Linked DNA regions of Homo sapiens: all the other regions are linked to region 7. Evidence: promoter capture Hi-C in 16 types of primary human blood cells and fetal thymus (Javierre and others, 2016). All regions are on one chromosome and are shown on one strand. The core of a region is centred on a gene start or on the middle of the fragment in contact, and the rest is flanking DNA. Distances in the headings are between cores, read along the strand shown. Region 1 overlaps AMMECR1 (AMMECR nuclear protein 1). Region 2 overlaps AMMECR1 (AMMECR nuclear protein 1). Region 3 overlaps TMEM164 (transmembrane protein 164). Region 4 overlaps TMEM164 (transmembrane protein 164). Region 5 overlaps TMEM164 (transmembrane protein 164). Region 6 overlaps AMMECR1 (AMMECR nuclear protein 1). Region 7 holds the start of ACSL4 (acyl-CoA synthetase long chain family member 4).

Evidence for each region. The method cuts DNA at HindIII sites, captures the fragments that hold promoters and counts their contacts. A CHiCAGO score of 5 or more calls a contact.
Region 1: a fragment that was not itself captured here is called in contact with the fragment with the promoter of ACSL4 in region 7 in 1 of 17 cell types (neutrophils); the score reaches 6.0 in neutrophils.
Region 2: a contact is called between a fragment that was not itself captured here and the fragment with the promoter of ACSL4 in region 7, in 2 of 17 cell types (total CD8 T cells and total B cells). The highest score is 8.0, in total CD8 T cells.
Region 3: a fragment that was not itself captured here is called in contact with the fragment with the promoter of ACSL4 in region 7 in 2 of 17 cell types (total B cells and neutrophils); the score reaches 6.1 in total B cells.
Region 4: a contact is called between a fragment that was not itself captured here and the fragment with the promoter of ACSL4 in region 7, in 1 of 17 cell types (M2 macrophages). The highest score is 5.3, in M2 macrophages.
Region 5: a contact is called between a fragment that was not itself captured here and the fragment with the promoter of ACSL4 in region 7, in 1 of 17 cell types (neutrophils). The highest score is 5.0, in neutrophils.
Region 6: a fragment that was not itself captured here is called in contact with the fragment with the promoter of ACSL4 in region 7 in 1 of 17 cell types (non-activated CD4 T cells); the score reaches 6.2 in non-activated CD4 T cells.

Annotation. Positions count from the first base shown.
Region 1 is chrX:110,192,534-110,195,797 of GRCh38, reverse strand. AMMECR1 (AMMECR nuclear protein 1) reads left to right here. Exons shown (of 6, transcript NM_015365.3): 6 at 1-1,612. Among named protein-coding and RNA genes, the nearest start is that of SNORD96B, 31 kb to the left of the region's middle. The HindIII fragment of the contact is 2,640 bases long and covers 551-3,190 here.
Region 2 is chrX:110,242,860-110,245,960 of GRCh38, reverse strand. The region is part of intron 2 of AMMECR1 (AMMECR nuclear protein 1); the gene reads left to right. Among named protein-coding and RNA genes, the nearest start is that of SNORD96B, 19 kb to the right of the region's middle. RefSeq lists an enhancer at 397-946. The HindIII fragment of the contact is 1,145 bases long and covers 1,086-2,230 here.
Region 3 is chrX:110,154,556-110,157,619 of GRCh38, reverse strand. All of the region lies in intron 5 of TMEM164 (transmembrane protein 164), which reads right to left. Among named protein-coding and RNA genes, the nearest start is that of SNORD96B, 69 kb to the left of the region's middle. The HindIII fragment of the contact is 5,202 bases long and covers 1-3,064 here.
Region 4 is chrX:110,122,343-110,125,292 of GRCh38, reverse strand. All of the region lies in intron 4 of TMEM164 (transmembrane protein 164), which reads right to left. Among named protein-coding and RNA genes, the nearest start is that of MIR3978, 42 kb to the right of the region's middle. The HindIII fragment of the contact is 1,234 bases long and covers 731-1,964 here.
Region 5 is chrX:110,050,790-110,053,858 of GRCh38, reverse strand. The region is part of intron 2 of TMEM164 (transmembrane protein 164); the gene reads right to left. Among named protein-coding and RNA genes, the nearest start is that of MIR652, 3.0 kb to the left of the region's middle. The HindIII fragment of the contact is 1,130 bases long and covers 1,223-2,352 here.
Region 6 is chrX:110,213,010-110,216,394 of GRCh38, reverse strand. All of the region lies in intron 3 of AMMECR1 (AMMECR nuclear protein 1), which reads left to right. Among named protein-coding and RNA genes, the nearest start is that of SNORD96B, 10 kb to the left of the region's middle. The HindIII fragment of the contact is 4,263 bases long and covers 1-3,385 here.
Region 7 is chrX:109,731,975-109,734,887 of GRCh38, reverse strand. It overlaps ACSL4 (acyl-CoA synthetase long chain family member 4), which reads left to right and starts at 1,631. Exons shown (of 16, transcript NM_001318510.2): 1 at 1,631-1,749. LOC105373311 (a long non-coding RNA gene) reads right to left here and starts at 2,377. Exons shown (of 1, transcript NR_158569.1): 1 at 1-2,377. RefSeq lists silencers at 1,369-1,678, 1,776-1,896 and enhancers at 2,019-2,158, 2,219-2,268. The HindIII fragment of the contact is 5,191 bases long and covers 1-2,913 here.

The DNA of each region.
Region 1 (3,264 bases), core at 621-3,120, 460 kb before region 7:
AGCTGTTAATTATGTGGTATGAATTAACTTTGAACATGTTGAAATATGTAGCATGTCTTTAACTCAGACGAAGATTCTGATTGCACAGGTTGTGTTCTAGCCAGTTGTGATTTATTTGTTCAGAAACACAAATGTGAATTGCACTCTTATCATCAGAATATTGTATGAGTTCAGTGATCTTTAAACAGCTCAGAAGTAATACTTGAACTTCATTTGAGTAGCACAAAGTTTACATAGCCCCTTTTAAATGTTAATTCGTTCCATTTAAGTTTTCCATTTTCAGATGCAACTGGGTATTTTTCCTCTTGGAAATAGTACGTACTTTGCTTTGGTATGTAGCAAAAGGCTTCCATTTCTGGAAGGGTTTTCTTGTTCTTAAACAAGGTCAGCCAGGTACCAGATTCTAAAAGAACAAATTGTCCCCCACCCCTCAAGTGGCCTTCTGACTGCACGAGAATGTGCTACTACCCTCTGTAGTCTCCCCTAACACGAGAGGTCAGTGAAATTGATGGAGGAAGTGCAAGGCTTGCTTCCCCTCACCCTTAAAGCTTAAAGCAGTTGTAAGATTTTCAGTCCAGCACATACAGTCCCAGTGCCCAGCACACCGGAAGTTTGTATACTGGCCTCTTATCTTGTCTTCAAATGTGCAGGAAATTTGAAACTGTCATCTGGAATAGGTTCCATCTCTTATGTGTGTTAGATCAAACCAAAGAAGCCCCCAGCCATGCCCAAATGCTGCTTCAAAAGCCTGCCTTCCAGTCCTTACAAAAACCTTGCAGGATTAAATGTGTTAACTTTTTTATTTTTGTACAGTTTCTAAGTGATTTTTGCTAGTGATGTTAAAATGAATTAAGTTTATTTGAGGGGTGTGAGCACCTCCTCCATTTAAATAAACTGGTGACTTTCCTTTTATTTTTTAAAAGTGGAAACCCGTTGTGTGCCTCTCGATTTAAGGGTTTCTGATGACATTATTCTTAAGACCAGCATTGATCCTTTATATACAAATATATGTTTTCCTTGTTTTTTATTGCTATTTCAGAAGAAAATGAACCTTTTATTTTGCTCTACCCAGTAACTGCGCTGGTACATAGACGCACTGAGCAAACAAACTTTTGTAACCACCTCTGACTACTTTTGTATATCAAAGTTGATTACTTTTGAAATATTTGGATCTAGTTTCTAAGTTATTTTAGTGTTTTATATGTTCCCCAAAATTACTTTGAATCTGTCACCAGCATAATGAGTTCTTGGTGATACAATGGTGAGACTTGTAATGAGCAAAAAGCTACCTGGAGTAGCTCCTCTTTTCCTTCTTTCTTAGTAACCTGTTTTTTGATTACCGTAAGACATCACAGATTACCTGAAACCCCTTCCAGTATAACTAGGCCCTCCTTCCTTCCACATTTAATTGCTTAATAGTTTGAAGAAACTATTGGAAATGGGCATTTTATATGACATGTATGGCTTTACAATATTAAATATGAGCAAAAAGAAAAAATATGAGAAGGTTTATGTGGGTCTGTAAGGTATGGCTGTGGAAAGATATTGTAGTAGTTTTGACACTATTGTTATTACCTTTAAAATCATTTACCCAATAAAATGTTAAAACCGAGTTATCATTTTATGTTTCTTTTTTAAGTTTAACCTCTCTCATCATAGGATCTTGGTCTCGTCGGTACTTCTTACTAAAAGGTTAACAGTTGAAGGCTCTGAAGGAATATAGTTAGGAACAGATACTGATTTATTGCCAAACTAGCACTTGGGAAACCTTACCTGCTTGTAGCCACTCCCTGCCATATGATTTGCCAATGTCATCCTTTTGTCTATCTCTGAATCCTGGCTTGCTGATATAGATTAGCCTTTATTTGGACACCCTAACCTGGCCACATTGATCCTTTAAGGATCCTTCAGATCCTTTGCCACAGAACTCAGGCAAATATCAGACTTGAATTCTGGCGGGAGCTTAGCTGTGCTTAGGTCCGCTCCAAATCAGTCAGTGGTTATTGGGCATTTCCTCTTTGTGAGCTGGTGAGGGGCAGTAGCAGTGCTATTCAGTTAAATCATCTGATATGGGGACCCCTTCTCCTACCATCAAGGCTTGCCCATTTTCTGAGTATAGGACAGAGTCTGAAAATGCTCAAGATGTGGTCACCCAGAGCTTGTACGTACTCATACACACACTAGGCATACCACACGCTTACACTTATTACCAGCTATTTTTTCCAGTTCCAGATTGGTACCCCCAACTTGGGCTTGGGGGAAACACCTGGATTGTAGGGTAGGGCAACTGGTGGTATTGACTTTCAAGGGCCAGATAAGAGCCTATGTCAAGAAAGGAATCTCTTGGGGTGCTGCCTCTGCCTACTGTTGCCTTATCCCTTTCTCTATGGAAAGGCTACCAAGGACATTGTACTTGTGTATGGAAATACCTCTGGCTCTTTCTAAAACATTTGCTGTCTCACGCACATTTCAAGATTAGCTGCTAGTTGAATATATCCAGGACAATTTCTGTTACATTGCCCCAAAGCCCTGGTAACCATGTAAATTTTATGACACGTGCTTATGTCAATCACAGTGGCTAAAAAGTGTTCTTAGATCCTAGAGGACTATTGTGGTTTTAACCAGTGCTCCATAAAGGCAGCCATCTGCTCAGGTTTTACCTATTTTCATCATTCATGTTTAATGGGACATAAGATTTTTCAATGATTTCGACCATATTAATAGGTTCAGGTAGAATGAAGTAGTTTAATGAGCCCACAGCATTCTTTTTTACAGCATTAGTGGTTAACTCTGGTCTGGACAAATTTCAACTTCAGTAATCACACTCCACCTACCTAAATTCTTCCCAGAGTTTCAGCATTTCCACTTTAGATTTCATGCCCCTCTGGACCCTGTGTAAATAGCTTTACTGCTTCCGAGGGCAAGTATGGGCGTGTAGGATGAAGCAGTGCCCCTCTGTTGCTGGGAAATACTACCCTATCTAAGGGGTCCTATCAGTGTGAGGTAAGGAGAAGTCTGCGGTGGAGAAGTCACACCGGGATTCAGAGCTGCCAGCCAGGACAGCCAGTGAATGACTGCCCATTCAGAGAATGGCTTCTCCCACTTCCTGCAGCTTCAACCACATAAGCCAAGATAAGTATGGGTTTGGGTTGGGTAAGCTCTCATAGCTTCCCATCTGTATGCTCAAGCTTTTCACCTACAGGAGGAAGAAATGAATGGGAGGATGCAAGTGAGGAAAGCCCTGGATATACTATTTTTGGCTAC
Region 2 (3,101 bases), core at 409-2,908, 510 kb before region 7:
GAAGGACATTTTATTCACAGTAGCACTACTGTCCATATATTATTTTTAAATCCCTACGAGAGAGATGGTCATTTTTGTGAAGTTTCGGTTGTAGTTCCTGGTCCTACAAAGGTTTAGTGAGTGAGTGATGGCTTGTCAGAAATGATCTTTCTGTGATGGCTGAAAACTTTGGGAGGACCAAAGTTTCAGGTGAGCAATCCTAGGTCATAGCTTCACATCCTGCCATTTATTATCTAGTTAATTATGCTTGATTCTGCTTGATACAAAAATAAAATTTGCATTCAACAAACAAAACAGTACCTCACCTCTTTTTCACAAAGAAGAAGATTTGGGCTAGAGATTGGGAGATTTTGTATTTAGCAAATTTTTAAAAGTCCTTTTGAGATGTGTCTTCTAAGGGCTTTTGTTTGCTATCATTAACTGTGGGAATATTTGCTCCTGAATGGATCCCACCTTATGCTGAGCCCAGCTTCCCTTGTCATTCCCCCTGCAATAAATACTATACAATAAGTGTCTATGTAACAAATAAACAGTTTGGAGGTTAAATGGAATGCTCAATATAATAAAGCTCCATTGCAGTAGGGAGAAAAGTCCTTTTGATATGCATTTGATAGGAATGTGTTAATTTCAACAAAACATCTGGTATAAAAGAGTTGTGAATGCAGGACATTTGAGGGGGTTACAGAAGGAGAAGGGATTTACTGTGCTTAACAATTGCCAGTAGTCAGGCCACTTCCAAGTTGTGATTTTGTCAGACTTAGAAATTAAGTGGGATCACATCTACTCAGCCCTTCAGTGGGAGAAGATCCAAATCCAGCTGCAGCAAGGAGCAGTGACTGATTCAGAAGTAGTGAGCTCTATCCAGTGTCTCCTAGCTGGTTTTCATTAATATGCTTACTATTGCCCTCTTTATATTCTGGCTTTTTAAAAAAATATGGCCTTTGTGGTTTATTGGTTGAACTTGTACAGCTGAATCTACTGTAAAAGGTCTTTTTTCACTGGCATTATGTCCTACAGATTTGAGTGTTCTTGCTGTTCTATATAAGATAATTCAAACTTAGAATAGTCACTATAGTTTCAAAGCTTGATTGAAAGATACATTCAGTGTTTTCTCTAAATATGTAGCAATTATAACAACACAGCTGTAGTTAAATACATAACTTATTATAAATCCTGACAGTCTTCCTTCTCATTTATATCAGGCTGACATAAGGTTTAGTCAGTTCAATTCCACATTTATCGAGCACTTAACTCTGACCATGGTACTGTACTAGGTACTATGCAGCTACAAAGATCAACAGTACATGATGTCTGTGCTCAAGAGCTGAGTGATGTCTTTTGAGGGAAATTGGCATGTACACAAAATAACTGCATTAGATGTAGAAACAATGCTACTGGAAGTGGGAGAAATTAGCTCTAGTTGGATAGATTGGGGAAGGTTTTACTGACTAGCTGACATGTAAGCCGAACCTCTATGGACATATACGACTCAATTTCAACATTCAAAAGTGGGGATATGGAGAAGATATTCATTATGCATCCAGAAAACTTCCTGAGCCAAATGTAAGGAGACAGAGAAATATATATGAGAAGAGAAATATATACAAGCAGCCCAAGTTACATCCCTGACTATTACTATTACCCTGACTCGGGCTGCTTGTATTAATATATAGGATGGAATGGAAAGGATAGAGATTAGAGAAGCAGTTATGAAGCTAATCTTAAATATTCCAAATGAAAGATGGTAGAGGCCTGAATTAGGTTAGTAACAGGAGGGATGTAAAGAAACATATAACAGAGACAAGGTAGTAATTGAACAAGATGAGACTTGTGGAAAGTAAGCTAAAGGGAAGAGTTGAAGATGGCTTCAAAGGTTCCTTCTTAGATGATGGGGCAGGGGGAGGATGATAAGATGAAAGGTGATAGGCAACACAAGACAAGAAGCACATTTGACACATTGTTTGTTAAAGAGTCATTTTTAATGTGAAAGTAATTTTTAATTAATCCTAGATTATCTTTTTCTGAATTTGAATGTTGAAGATTTTTTAAAATTAAGAATTTATTGAAAATTGTTTGCTTTCAGGATATGGTAGTGAGAGTGAAATAGAGTAATACATTATTATACATTGTATCTTATTAAATATTTTATTTAAAATTAAAATAAATAAAATAGTTGGAAAAGACCCTTGATATCATTATTTTCTCTTAGGCCATGCCACAAAGCAAAGCTTAGAAAATACAGCTGAATCCTCAAACTTCTTTCTAACCAAAAATACATTTTGTGGATAAGAAATCTATAAAGAAATAAATGTTTGTAAACATTGGGCGGTTGTTATGGAATTTAAATATCTGTTCTTATTACCTAAGAATGTCTGGGTTTCAAGGCTGAATTAAAATAGATTCCAGGCATCTTTAAAGGTAAACAACACATCTGTTGATTTGTCTAGTACAATGGAAACTGACTGAATTTTGATTATGATAAAAATCAGCATCTTCCATCTATTTAGCAATACTTTTGGGTAATCTTTTCTCCTTTGGGGAATTTTCCAGATGTTTGGGAATATGATTCCAATTTACAAGAGTTGTTTTTATATTGTAGCTGAGTGATGTCCTAACTATGAAACTCTTAGGTTGGTGTAACTGTATCCAAAGGGTCCTCTGCAATGTGTGTAGGAATGCCCTGTGACACCTTGGCTTCTTTGACTTGCCCAGACTCTCAAAGCTAGGTGGCTGGAAGGTTTCCTGGAGGCAGAGTCCAGTTCTCATTGTAGTAATTTACATTAACAAAGGAATTAACATTTCCAGCTATCTTCTGGGATCACTCAGTTTTGAGCAACATTCATATAATGCAGTGAAAATGAATAGCTAGTACCACAAAACAATTTAGATGGTTCCTTTGGTACAGACGTTGACTTGTATTTTCTGAAAGGAAGAGAAGCTCTGAAATTCAGTGAAAATGACAGGGCGGTTGCTATTGTACACATTATTAGAAAGAACCATTTCAAATAACAATTGTAAACATGTATTTTAATGCTAATATACTGTAATAGCCTAGCATTGAGTAGTGAAACAATTTCAGACAAGTGTCCAAATTGTTTTAT
Region 3 (3,064 bases), core at 76-2,575, 420 kb before region 7:
AAACCCCTGTCATTCTCAGCAGTTGTCATCAACTTGTAATTCATCCACTCCCCTTTCTCTCTGGTACCTTCAATGTTCCCTGGCTCTACTGGGCTTCAGTTTAGCATTTGAACATGCTCAGCCCTGGGGCAGAGAGAAAGGGAAAAGGAGGTGAAAAGGAGAGAAAGGGAGGGGGAGAAAGGAGGAGGAGAAACACCCTCCCTTGGCTCTGTAACACCCTTAACCCCTCCTTCCTTAATGCCCTTAACTTCTTCCCTGTAATTCCCACTTCTCTGAGGACCTGATTTTACTGTACCTCTTAGATCCAACATGGCTTGGCTAATACCACTTTGGGAAAAATTTCTACTGCCTTAGTTTTCAGGACAACCAGCCTCTCCTTCTATCACTGATCTTTCCTGCAATCTCCTTACACTCTTCTTCTTCTGTCTACTGTTTGCAAGTTGATGTTCCCCAAGGCTTTCTCTAAGTCCTATTTTATCCCTACCTACATAGTTACCCTGGACCAGCTCATTCATTCCAATGTTTTCATCTACTAGTTCTATAACCACTGATACTAAAGTCAGTGTCTAGTCCAGATTCCCCTGAACAGCTCCAGAATATTTTATCCTAATGCTTCCTGGGCATCTCAACCTAGATAGCCTATAAGCACCTCAAACTCAAGTAAAATCATCTTCCTCGCTGCTATGGTCTGAATGTTTATGTTCCTCTCCTCAGATTCATGTTGAAACCTAATGGTCAATGTGATGGTATTAAGCGGTGGAGCCTTTAGGAGCTGATTAGGTCATGAGGGTGGATCCCTCATGAATGAGATTAGTGCCCTTATAAAAGATGCCCAAGGAAGCCTGCTTGCCCCTTCCACGTGTGAGAACACAGTGAGAAGACCCCATCTAGGAGGAACAGGCCCTTACCAGACACTGAATCTTCTGGTACCTTGATCTGGACTTCCCAGCCTCCAGAACTGCGAGAAATACATTTATATTGTTTATAAGCTACTCAGTTGATAGCATTTTTGTTGTAGCAGGCCAAAAAGACTAAGACACTCTCTAAAACATGCTCCTTCCTTCTGCGCCCTCTTCTCAGTTAATGATACTCTATCCCACCCAGTCACTCAGGCCAAAATTCAGGGGCCTCACGGATTTTACCCGCATCCTTATTCCCATAGCACCTCAATTACAACAATTATTAATCAACATCTTTAATAAATAAAATAAATCAATATCCAATATTAATTATCTTAATCTCCCGAAAAGATGTGACTACTGCCACCTAGTGGCAAAATACAGACAACTAGAAATGGTGGTTACTGCATATTATAATAAAGTATAATAAAAGTACAAGGAGAAAGGCACATTAAGGAATACATGCCCTTGGCTGCCTAGGAAAGTCAGAGACACCTCCAGAGAGGAGGTAGTACCCTTGAGCTAACTTGCAAAGGAACACACGAAGTTTGCCAGGTTTCAAGTAGAATAGATAGTATGAGCCTGGACACAAAGCAAGGAAGGCTGGGCAAACCTGTCAGCAGATAAGTTTATTCAGAAAGTAAAGTAATGAGCTGGGCACAGTGGTATGTACCTGCAGTCTCAGCTGCTTGGGAAGCAGAGGCAGGAGGATCACTTGAGCCCAGGAGATCCAGGCTGCAGTGAGCTATGATTGCATTACTGCCCTCCAGCCTGGACAACATAGTAAGACCCCATCTCTAAAAAAACAAAACAAATAAAAACCAGAAGGTAAAGTGATAGAATCGGAGTCTAAGCAATGAGAAATGAGGCCAAAGAGATGGACAAGAATCAGACTGTGAATGGTCTTGAATGCTATGCAAAGAAGTTTGGTCTTCATCCTGGATGGGATTTTTAAGCAGCTGAGCAAAATCAGATCAGATTTCCTCTTTCCTTAAAATGGTCACTCTGGAGACTGTATAGAGGATAGCCTGGGTAGGAGGTAGGGGAAATCAGGGGGCAGGGAGAGGAGAGAGGAAGCAAAGTAGTCCTGGTAACAGAGGCTGAGAGCCCACAGTCGGACAGGGGTGGTGAGGATGAGGAGGAAGGGCCAAATTTGCAAACAATTTTGAGAATTTAAACTGTCAGAACTTCTGAACTGATTGGTAAATGGGAAGACGCAGAGGAAGAGATCTAGGATGTTGCCTACATTTTTTGCTTTGGTAGTGGATGGAGAGTAGAGCCACTAACCAAGACAGGAAACAGAGGAGGAAGACAAGCAGGATGAGAGAAGGGGTACAGAAATGAGGAGTCTAATTGTTATTTTTGAAGTACCTGTACTGCTTCTCAAGCCTGTGTTATCTCTATTGATGAAGAACACCAGGATCTATGGGGCAGGCAGAGCAAAAGAGCCCAAGGAGAAAGAACCAGAGAAGTAGGAGAACCAGGAGAAAGAGGTACCCTGGAGCTCAAAGGAGAAACAAGTGTCTCAAAGGAGGGAGGACCAGTAATGTTACATCCACTGACAAGCATGCTCTCAGTTCATGCAAGGTTCTGCGGCTTTAGAACACAGCAAGGCACAATCCTGACCTCTAGAGACGGCAGTCTAGTTGGAAGAAAGATGAATAATTAACACAAGGCAGAACAGTGGGTAATTAATAATTATACAAACCCAATACATAGTATTTACTATGTGCCAGTCATTGTTCTGTATACTCTTCATGTATCAGCTCAGTGAATCCTCATAACACCCTATGAGGTAGGTACTATTACTACCCTCATTTTGCAAGTGAGAAAACAGACACAGAGAGGTCAAGGTACTCGACCAAATGCCAGAACTAACTAGCAAGTGGGATAACTAGGATTTGTACCTACAGTCTGTCTGAATCCAGCGACTCCATGGACAGGCAGCATAGAGGCATCTCTGCCCACCTGGTTTCAAACACCAGTTTAAACTCTAGTGCAGGCCAGGCACAGTGGCTCATGCCTATAATCCCAGCACTTTGGGAGGCAGAGGCAGGCGGATCACTTGAGGCCAGGAGTTCCAGACCACCCTGGCCAACATGGTGAAACCCTATCTCTACAAAAAATGCAAAAACTAGCCGGGCGTGGCAGCATGTGACTGTACT
Region 4 (2,950 bases), core at 98-2,597, 390 kb before region 7:
CTTGATTCTAAGTCAAAGCCATTCTCAAAAGCACCTTAATAGCAACTCAAATATTTCCTATTATTATTAATAAATAATCTTAGCTAACCTTTATTGAGCATTTACTACTTTGTATCAGGCATTGTGGTAAGCACTTTACATGCATTACCTTATTAAAGATTCAGGAATTGTTATGACCGTCCTCATTTTACAATGTAAAACAGGCTCTGAGACAGGCTATTGATGCTGTAGAAGGAAGACTGGAACAGTGATTTGGCTAGATTAAAAGCCTGGGCTCTGCTGACTAGGTATCTTTGATGATTTTAAGGAATTATTGCTAGTTATTATAGGTATGATAATGGTATTGTAATGTTTATTTTTTACTGTGTCCTTACATTTCAGACATGCATAATGAAATACTTACAGTTAAAATTACATGAGATTTTCTTCCAAATAATCCAGGGATAGGTGTTTGTGTTGGGGGTGGAATGGATTTGTGGTGGAGTGAGGTGTATTGTTAAAAAGAAAAAGATGGGCTATGTGGTGACAATCATTGAAACTGGGTGACAGATGCATTAGGGAACATTTTTTCTACTTTTGTGTATGCTTTCAATTTTCTACAATATAAAATTATATACATACACTCCTGTTCTTATCCACTACATCATAGGACCTCCTAGCTTACGAAGTTTTTCCACCCCAAACTCCTTTCCTGCGTTAGCTCCTCTGGCCGGATCCTACCACCAAAGCTTCCTCAACTGGCACCCATGCAGTACCGGGACCCAGAAGTGATCACTCTTTCCTTGGACTTTCTAAAGAAACCCTCAGTTTGCCCTAAAGTCTCAGTTCACTCCACTCAAGGTCCTAGGCGTGTGGGACCTAAGGGGAGGTTGGCAGGCCACCTGTTGAGGTAAGAGATGGGCCTCAGGAGGAGCTCTGCCTACCCCCCGATTCTTTTTATGCAATGGAAAACTGAATTCATCTTGCCAGTTGGCACCCAACAAAGGATTATTTCATTGAATCCTCATAATAACTATGATGTACCTTTCTCCCTCCCTCCCTGCTTCCCTCTTTCCGTCCAGCCAGCCTGCCTTCCTGCCTTCCTGCCTGCCTGCCTGCCTGCCTGCCTTCCTGCCTTCCTTCCTTCCTTCCTTCCTTCCTTCCTTCCTTCCTTCCTTCCTTCCTTCCTTCCATTTGTTATTACAGGTTCTCACTCTGTCACCCACGCTGGAGTGTATGGCATGATCATGGCTCATGGTAACCTTGAACTGTTAGGCTCAAGTGATCCTCCTGCCTCAGCCTCCCAAGTAGGTGAGACTACAGACACATACCGCCACGCCTGGCTAATTTTTTAAAAAAAATTTTGGTAGAGACCGGTCTCACTATGTTGGCCAGTCTGGTCTCAAATTCCTGGGCTCAAGTGACCCTCCCACATCGGCCTTCTGACTAGCTGGGACTACAGGCACATGCCACCATGGCTGGCTAATTATTTTATTTTTTGTACAGACAGGGTCTCACTTTGTTGCCCAGGCTGGTCTCAACACTTCGGCTCAAGTGATCCTTCCTCCTGAGCCTCCCAAAGTGTTGCAGTTATAGGCGTGAGCCACCAGGCCCAGCCAGTGATAGAGGTAATATTTCTGTTGTACAGATGAGGCGATTGAGCAAAGTTCAGTTGCTTAAATAACCCTGAAGTCTCTTGCTCAGAGTGTCCATTAACCAAAGGCATCTCATTCAGTACTTATGCAACAGGGGAGGTGGAAAGAGCACTGATGTGGAAGTCAGAAGACCTGAGTGCTGAACCAAGATCTGCCAATCACTGGCTATGTGGCCTCAGGCTAGTCAATCCCCCTGGGCCTTATCATCTGAACACTATATTGCTCATTTTGCTTTCTTTCAACTTTGCTTTCCAGCCCTTTTCAACATTCACACACACACACACTAATCCCCAGAAGATCTTGTTACAATGCACACTCAGTTTCAAAGCTTTCTACAAAGCTACAGCAATCAAGACAGTGTGGTGCTGGCATATGGATAGACATATAGAGAAATGAGATAGAACTGAGGGTCTAAAAATAAACCTTCACATTTATTTTTCATTGATTTTTAGAAAGGATACCAAGATATTTCAATGGGGATGGATAGAAGAGTCTTTTCAACAAATGGTGCTGGGACAACTGGATATCCACATGAAAAAAATGAATTTGGACCCCTTCCTCACACTACACATAAAGATTAACTCAAAATGGATCATAGACCTAAATGTAAGAGCCAACACTATGAAACTCTTAGAAGAAAACAGTCATATATCTTCATGATCTTGGACTAGACAACAGTTTCTTAGATGTGATACCAAAAGCACAAGCAGCCAAATCAAAAATAGAGAAATTAGACTTTATCAAAATTAAAATATTTTGTGCCTCAAAGGATACAATCAAGCAAATGCAATGACAACCCACAGAATGGGAGAAAATGCTTCAAATTATATATCAGATAAGGGTTTAATATCCAGAAAGAACAATTATAACTGAACAATGAAAACAACCCAATTAAAATTTGGGAAAGGATCTGAAAAGATATTTCTCCAAAAAGACATACAAATAGCTAGTAAGTACATGAAAAAGTGTTCAACATCATTAGTTATCAGAGAAATAGCATTCAAAAATCCGAAATCTGAAATGTTCCTGAATATGAAACTTTTTTTATCAGATATTTTATTTTTTTATTTTATTTTATTTTATTATTATTATACTTTAAGTTTTAGGGTACATGTGCACAATGTGCAGGTTACATATGTATACATGTGCCATGCTGGTGTGCTGCACCCATTAACTCGTCATTTAGCATTAGGTATATCTCCTAAAGCTATCCCTCCCCCCTCCCCCAACCCCACAACAGTCCCCAGAGTGTGATGTTCCCCTTCCTGTGTCCATGTGTTCTCATTGTTCAATTCCCACCTATGAGTGAGAATATG
Region 5 (3,069 bases), core at 538-3,037, 320 kb before region 7:
GCATGAAGGGGCTTGACCTTTCAGGGAGCCACAGGAGTCCTCCTCCTCTGACCCATTTAAGAGAGGATCATGCTGCTCCTTGACCTCAATCCCAGAAAAATATGTAGAACAGGATGACCTGGTTACCTTGAAACTCGTCAAGAAAACTCTGAAGTAACAGAGCCTAGGCCAACCCATGGGAGGGATGGATGGTATCCAGTTCCCTGAAGCAAGAGGACCAATTGTGTCAGAGTCAAAGCCACATGGGACAGCTAATGTTTGCAGTGCTCCACCACCAATGAACTCTATGGCCAAAGTTGGGGTTTTTATGATGGTGGGGGAGAGGTGTATTTTTTTTAAAAGAAAGTATTTTTTACACCTCCTTAAGCCTCAGTTTTCTCATTGTTTAAAACAGAAATAAGAATACCTACCATTTGCAGTGCTTCTAAGGCATAAAATGAGAATGTAATAAAAGCACCTATTTCCTGGTGCCTACATCAGTTTGTTCTTCCTGAGGTTCTGAGCACACAGTGATGCAGGACATAATTCCTGTCTGCAAGAAGCTCACAGTCTGGCTAGCAAAGGTCTTCTACGGCACCCTGTCAACCAAAATTAAAGCTGGTTGGTGAGTTAGCCTAACTCTCAGCAAGACATTTTATCAAAGGAAAATTTTGGTGGGAAAGAAGGTAAGAGCTGTTGGCAAGAGTAAAGATTGTGGGTTATATCTTTGCTTTCCTATCTTTGCTGCAAATCTCCCATCCACACCTTTGTATTAAAAAATTGGGAAAGGGGACTCCATTAATCACTGTTTTAAAAAATGATGCATGTAGGCCAGGCATGGTGGCTCACGCCTGTAATCCCAGCACTTTGGGAGGCCAAGGTGGGCAGATCATGAGGTGAAAAGATCAAGACCATCCTGGCCAACATGGTGAAACCCCGTCTCTACTAAAAATACAAAAAAATTAGCTGGGCATGGTGGTGCATGCCTGTAGCCCCACCTACTCGGGAGGCTGAGGCAGGAGAATCGCTTGAACCTGGAAGGCGGAAGGTGCAGTCAGCCAAGATGGCGCCACTGCACTCCAGCCTATGCGACAGAGCAAGACTCCGTCTCAAAAAAAAAAAAAAAAAAAAAAACAGATGCATGTAAATGCTGTTCTTTTCCTTCACAACACATATCACCATTTCTCATTTATATTTAGCTATGTTTTCATTAAATGTTGATCTTCCCTGCTGACCATAAGCTTCTGGAGAGCAGGAGCTGTGTGATGGTCCTCACTGTAGGTCCAGAACTTAACACAGTGCCTGGAACATATGAGATGCTCATCAGGTACTTGCTGAATGAATAAATGAAACAAGATGTCTCCATACAATATGGATAGACTTGGTTACCTAAGCAAAAGCCATTTTAGAATATTCAAGCCTTGTTTATGCATGCAGTAATTCTCAGGATTTCCAAGAATCTGGTAATGGCAGTTTGTTTCTGGGGAGAAGAACTAGTGGATCAGGGGTCAGAGGTTGGAGGGAATCATATATGCTATTCTATTCCTTTAAAATTGTATGAATTTTTAAATAACAACCAAACATAAATATACCAGATATAATGGATTTGCTCTATTTGAAGCCCAAAGAAACAAACAAAACCCAAGCCTTTCCATAGGAAAGCAAAATCTTGGAGGGAAGCGGAAGGAGATTGTGCCCTTGTGTGACTAAAATCCTAAGAATCAGGGGTCCTTAAGAATGAGGTTGATTTATATGTACTAACATGGACTGATGGCTAAGATATTAAGGAAAAAAAAATACAAACATTGTTGAATGATCCCATTTTTAGAATAAAAATATAAAATGTTTAGCATATGCAGAGATAAAAATCAGAAGGAAAAACATGCTTACAATGGATATGTCTGGGAGACCGACTTCTAGGGGACTTTTGTTTGCTATGTGTCATATTCCTATAATGTTCCGGGCTTGAATCATGAACATCTGTTGCTTTTATGTTAGGAAAATACTATTAAAAGGCAATTTCACTAAAAATATAAGTATGGTGCCTAACTCTGCTAACCACCTGGGGCATGAGAAGGGAGTCAGCTGGAAGCTGAGGCAGGTTTGAAAACCTGGAATGCGCTGTCCAAACCACACTGGGAATGAAGCTGCTGTTCCTCCATACAGATAACCCTTCTTCAAGCAACTGGAAAGATTTCTTTTAATCCTCAAGCCACTGTTACAGCCCAGAAGCCAAGCCAGCTGAATAACTGGATTTTCTTTCTTTCTTTCTTTCTTTCTTTCTTTTTTTTTTTTTGAAAGAAAGTTACCTCTCTTTTGTATGCAACAATAATGACAGGGGGGTCACAGTAAGCCTCTTTAAATTCTTAAGCTTTAGTGCTTCTCTGTTCTAGGCAGGTAAAACTAAGGTACAGAAAAGTTGATTCTATTTCCTTCACCTGGCTCAAACAGCCAGAACCAAGTTGTTTGGCTTTGCTGTAAAACCCAGCAGTTCTAAATACTGAATGCACATTAGACTCACGTAGGCAGTTTATTGTTTCATAAAAGAAAAAAAAATTCCTGGGGCCTACTCCTCAAGATGCCTACTCAACTGGTTGGGCCTGGGGCCTGGGCATCAGTATTTTAAAGTGCTCCAGCTGATTTCAATGTACAGCCGGGTTTACAAGTCACTGTTCTACCCACTGCTTAATATCCCAGTAACCTTAGAGAAAGGGACCTTAGTCACCATTTTAAAAAATCTTCTTTACACTGTATATTCCCCTCAAAGGAAGGCAAGCTGAAGAAGCCTGTAACCAAGACAACAAGCTGGGAGCACAAAGAGATAGGTCTTCTGTGATTTGAAACCAAAGGAAGCAGAAGAGAAAAAGTAGAAATCTGAAAGCAGGTACTGAAAAATGGAAAGAAATTAGATAACAAAGACATCCTGTCTGAGAAAGTTCCCAAATGTTAGCACGTCAAACTTCTGTTCCACCTCCCAAACTAGGCGCCTTGATACAGATGCCCTAATGGCTGAAAGCAACCCTGAATTAGCAATTAAACCCTTAAAAACTTGCTTTCTTCTTAATGGAACTTCTGGGGGAAAATCAGAAT
Region 6 (3,385 bases), core at 518-3,017, 480 kb before region 7:
GGATGAATAAACCTCACAACTGAACGAGATATAAGTAAATGAGTTTTTTAAAGGACAAAGTGCCACGTGTTGTTATAATCCCCAAACTGAATTTGGTTTTCATTTTTCTCCTACTACCTCACCAAAGCACCTCATAAAAGCTGTTAATAAGTAATAAGAAGGACTGACTGGAATTTATTTCTCCTCTTACTTTCATTCTGGTGCACTCTGGTATAACCGCCACTAAGTAACTAGTTGGTCAGAGGATACATCTCAGAAACAAGAAGAAATATTTAGGATAATACACCATTTGGGGGAATCAGCTTGTGATAACAACAAGGTATTGATTAACTAGAGTTAAATAATGTGAATTCATTCTTGGCTACCTTAGTTTATACACTTAAACACTCTAACAAATAATACTAAGGTTATTTCTAGGGTATCTCTGTGCATTGCTATTGTTAGAGTAGCTTATATTGATCATATTTTTATTCTTCTTTAGTACATGGGGTTGGCTAACATTGTTAGTGAAGTTCAAAGGTTCTCACCATGATTTGCTTTGGTGGCTGGGAGGAGATGTTGAGTGTAGGTCTATTGGGTCTATGAAATTTTACACACAAGCATGCCCATATTACTGAATGCCTGTTTTATTCCAGGCAATGTGCTCCATGTATAAAAGTGGTAAGATTTGGTTCCCACCATGAAGCATGTCATAATTTAGTGGCGAGTAAATGTGTATAGAAAGTATGAAGAAATAAGTGCTATGAGAATGAAACAATGGGAACTCAGTGATAAACATAACATTCTCTCTCACACATACACTCATAAATGGCATTATTGTATCCTTATGACAGATTTTAATTCTTCTGCTGTTTTAGAAGGACCATCCCCCATAGTAACTGAACTATTCTGCCTTGGAGACAGATCACTGTCTTCACAGTTTATTAGACTTGAATTTAATTTTGGCTTTGCCCTGATTCCTTGTGAGACTTTGAACAATTTACTTACTCCACTGCAATTCAGTTTTCCAATATACAGAATAAGACATTTATAAGGTTCTTCATTTGAAAAAAAACTCTATGATATAAATTATTGTTGTTATACCAGAGCTATTTAAAAAGTTTTAGGGGGTGGGGTGAAAAAAAACTTTTCTACAGAGAGTACAATGCTAGAGTCCCCTCTGGGTTTTGTGCTAAGATTTTCTGGAGCATTATCAGAATATGAACACATCTTAGGATTTTTGCAAAGGAAGAAATAAAATAAATTTATACTGTTGTTCCTACCAAAGTTGGAATGTAGAAAACCTTTTGTAAACTTGAAATTTCTGATTTATTATTTGCTATAAGTTTGTTGTTCTTACTTGATTTTTCTTAAAGAAAAGTCTACAAATATTATGGAAATATTCCTTAGTACTTTATTTTTAAACAGCCCCAAATCATGTTCCCTACTTATTAACATATATTATAGTCTGGGTGGTTCTTTTACTGTTTTAAGGCTGCTGTTTCCTCTTCCGCAGCCAGATTTACTTTTGCTTTCTGGATTGCAGGGTGTTGTGTATGTAGTAGTGGGGATGGGAGTGATTATATGGGAAAAGCCTGAGATCCAAGGGGGATGACCAAGCTACAAGAACACTTCTACTCTTGCAGCTACTGAGTTGGAAGTACAGTTCTGGCATGTGTGTTTCTGTGTGTGTGCATGTGTGTGTGTCACAAACATGAACATACTAGTATTACATAAATGTGTGTGCATGTGTTTTGGGGGAAGGAAAAAGGGGAGAATACAACAGCTGTTACATAGGCATGGTTAAGCACCGAGTACATCATCATCATCTTTAGCCCAGTTAAAGCACTATCTACAGCTAAAATTAACCTTGATATTATTGGACTATTATGTCCAAAAGATACATCAGCTTTCTGTTTGTTAGGAGAGTGGGATGTAAAGCCCTTAAGAAGTAGTACTGTGTACTCCACTATATACTCTTTCAAGGCATATTTATCCTCTTTGGTCACCATCTGCCAGCCTGAATTTCCAGAAGATTCTATATTGTTCCTACTTGGTATTGTGTATTTAATATATTTTAGGGGGCTTAAATATTAATTTCTATTAAGTATTAGTTCCCTATTGAAGCAAAAAATACACTTTTTTTTTTTTTCGAGACAGAGTCTCGCTCAGTCGCCCAGGCTGGACTGCAGTGGCGTGATCTCAGTACACTGCAAGCTCCGCCTCCTGGGTTCACGCCATTCTCCTGCCTCAGCCTCCTGAGTAGCTGGGACTACAGGCGCCCACCACTATGACTGGCTAATTTTTTGTATTTTTAGTAGAGATGGGGTTTCACCGTGTTATCCAGGATGGTCTCGATCTCCTGACCTCGTGATCCACCCACCTCGGCCTCCCAAAGTGCTGGGATTACAGGCGTGAGCCACCGTGCCTGGCCCCCATTTTTTTTTTTTACTTTTAATATACAAGTATTTGAAAGTGAATTAGTTACTGTTAGAATGGCTATGCTAAGAGGAAAAGCCCATCCTTTTCAGTTAGTTCATCATTGTTTCAGGTATTTGGCAGAAGAGAAATTTGTATACAACGAATAAGGGTGGAAATTATATTTTTAAGTACAAGAATGTGATTTGGTCTTAAAAAAATATGTACCTTACTCAGTGATTGAAAATGGAGTAATAGTATTGTGGGAATGATATTCTAAGGGTTATCCTTAATGATTCTGAAAAAGCATTACTAAACACAGAATGCCAAAATGGAATTAAAGGCATTAAAAAATTATACGTTGACACAATTTCACTTCTAGGTATATACCCAAAAGAATTGAAGTGTTGAAACAAAAACTTGTGCATGAATGTTCATAACAGCACTGTTCACAATAGCCAGAAGGTGGAAACATCCCAAATGTTTATCAACAGATGAATGGATAAATAGAATATGTTATATTCATACAATTGAACATTACTCAGCCATAAAAAGAAGTGAAATACATGCTACAACATGAATGAACCATGAATACATTATGCTAAGTGAAAGAAGTGAAACACAGAAAGCCACATTCCGTATGACTCCATTTATGTGAGATATCCAGAATGAGCAAATCCATAGAGATAGAAAGCAGATTAATAGTTGCTAGGGGCTAGGGGGAGGGGTAAATGGGAAGTGACTACTTAATGGTACAGGGTTGCCATTTGGAGTGGTGAGAAAGTTCTGGAACCAGATAGTGGTGGTGGTTGTACAATATTGTGAATGTATTTAATACCACTGAATTGTACACTTTAAAATTGTTAAAATGGCAAATTTTATGTGTATTTTACTACAATAAAAATGGAAAATAAACTTTATACATATATTCTGTTCATAATAGCAATTTTAACTTATCAAAGAAGAAAATTTTTTAAATTAAAAACAT
Region 7 (2,913 bases), core at 382-2,881:
ACTGGGTTTGTATTATATCTATATTTTAATTCCACAACTAGACACTAACTTTATTGAGAACAGCGATATTCATTTCTTCAATTTCATTTGTGTTAACCCAACTGTAGGTGATAGTGCTCTGTACATCATAGTTACCCAGTGAATTACGTACCTGACATATGATTGCTTATTTCTGGTATTAAAACAAGATTTCATAAAATAAACATGACAATTAAACTCGTTGTTTGAAGTACTGAACTTTGTAGGTCAATCTTGAAAAAGGAAGCTACATGACTGTCTTAGCAATATTTATAGGTATATTATATGTAAGTGGGTGGGTTTCTTGGAAATTGAATTGGTAATATGGCTTTAGAGTAGTAACACAAAAACTATAGCTCTGTGCTCTCAGCTAACCACTTTTAGTGTCACCTGGGCTGCTTATTAAAAATTCAAATTTCTTATCCCTACCCAGATCAGAATCAAAATACCTGGGGGTTGTAGCTCCAGGTACCTACATTTCAACAAGCACCCCAGATAATTGTGATGCACACTGAAGAACTACTCTAGCTTGTAATCTCAGGTGGTAAGGCATTTTATATATACATATATATATACACACACACAAGCACAAATGGTAATTCTATGGGAAAATGGAAATCAGCAAGTGAAGTGAAATGTCAATTACCATCAGGAACAGGAAGCTAGTTCACCATTACGCATCAGGGAACTGGAAGAATTCTTGAGATTTATTTTTTTGGGTGATATATTCTTGGCAGTTTATCAGGCCTCATTTGCAATTATGGTCTGTCCCTTTTGAAGCCCTCAGATAGTTCGCTGGCATTTTAATTTTAATAGCAATTTCTTGCATCTGTTGGAACAGCATTCGTATGACCGGCTTATAAGCAATGATCAGGGCTAGTAAGATGTCACAAAGCTGCGGTGACTTTTCCTTATCAGTTGGGGGTTTTTTTGCCATGATACCATCGTGGAAATGAAAGACAACGTGAAAATCCTGCGTCCTTGTGATATTTCATCAGTGGGAGTGAGCGGGGATCTTAACGCAGTAAGAGGCAAGATAAACGGATGAGAGGCATTAGTTCAGGCTTACAGGAGCAAGATGCTTTTAGTCAAAGTGTTCAAGATAGCTCTCTTAAAGAGGAGCAGTGAAACCCAAAAATGAGTGTCTTTTGAGGGCAGCTGGAAGATGACCCGAGGGGAACTTTTATCCTGGGGTGGAGTCCTGCGAAGCAAGCCGCAGGTGAGGGCGTGGGCCAATTCTGCGCCTCACTGCTGTTAGGCGCAAGGACATCCCGAAACACACTCAACGACACCAGCAGCGAGACTGACAGAAGCGGATCGCCAGCGGGAGCAACAACTTGAGGCGAGCCGTTAGCCGCCTCGCCTTCCTCGCAGCGCCCCTCCCGCGCCCCGGGAAGCCCGTTCGGCTCCGCCTTTTCGACTGACGTCCCGGGCGAGCGGGGGCGGGCGCGTGGGTGGGCCGAGCCGTCTGCAGCCAGCGATTCGGCTGGCTCTGCCACACCACCGCGCGCCCCCGCTCCGCCCGCCCCTCCGGGCGCGTCTTTTCCGGGCTCGCGCTGAGTCCCGCCTCCGCCGGCTGTCCGGGTGCGCGCGCGCCGCTGCGGCTTTTTCTCTGGCCTCCGCCGCGCGCTCCTCCTCGTCCCAGCGCTAGCGGGCACGCGGTTCCTTTTTGCGAGCTTTCCGAGTGCCAGGCGCCGGCCGGCTGCGAAGACGCGGTGGGCCGCCCCTCCGGTGAGTATCCCTGGATGGGGAGGTTGCGGCCCCGGCACCCCTGCCCTGTCGGTACCAGGGCCCCATTTCCAGAGGGGGACTGGCGTACCTCACCTGAGCCGGGAGGAGGTTGGGTGGGCATTCCAGCTCCTGGAGTCGGCTCGCTTTTTTCCTTGAGCCAGGGCTATCTATCCGCTCGCCTCCGCTGGGGCCGGGAAGATTCCCGAGGTCACTGTATCTGCTCCTGTGATGGACTCTGGGGTCCTCGGAACCCCAGCCTGCCTCTTCCTGCCGCTCACCGCATCCCGAGGGCCAGAAGTCATCTTCCTGATCGGGGTACTAGGCTTTGCCACGGCCCTTTCCGGAGGAGACCATGAAGTGCTTGCTAGACCTCCAAACGACCTTTAGGGTGCCCCTAAACCTCAACTCCATTTTGTCCCCTCCCAGTCGCTCTGTAACTGAGGGCTAGGGAGCCTCTCTAGCCCTAGAGGCATCCGCCCTCTCGAATTTGAGGGATGCCGTCGCTTCCGATATCTTCCTTGCTTCCGATATCTTCCTAGCTTCCGTAGGCTTAGGTTTGTTAGAAAACAGCTGGATCCTGGCGAAGCGTGCTTTCCTTCCTTCCCCCACCCCCGTTCTTTCTGTCTACATCCCTGCCTTCAGTGGGTGCTATATATTTAGTATGAGCTTTATTCACTTCCTCTTCCTCTCGTTTGAGTGCCTGAAAGAACTGTGGCTGATGTCTATAGACATAGAAAAATCTAGGAGAATATGATTCATTGTCTAACCCCATCAAGGGGTTACATATTTTAAATAAGACGTCATTTCTCCTCTTCACTCCAGCATCTCCTCCTTCAAAGGCATTTTTCACCCTCTTGAAATTAATACGCTCTATTCGCTCTTTTCACCTAAAAAAAGGTCAATCGTCGCTCTGAGAAACAACAGTGAGATGCAAAATAAGGGTAAAATGGCATTGAAATGAATCCCTTTGAAAAAGTAAGCGGTTTGCTTTATCAGTTAATGGTCTCATCAGCGCTTCAGTTTCCTCTTCTGCAAAAATCAGTCTGTTGAACTAGAGCATATCAAAGGTTCCTTCTAGTGTTTTGATTCTAGGACCTCTAAATTCATGCAGGCTGCATAATGCAAATTTAACCTGATTAAAGCCTTATTTCTCATAGTCGCTTG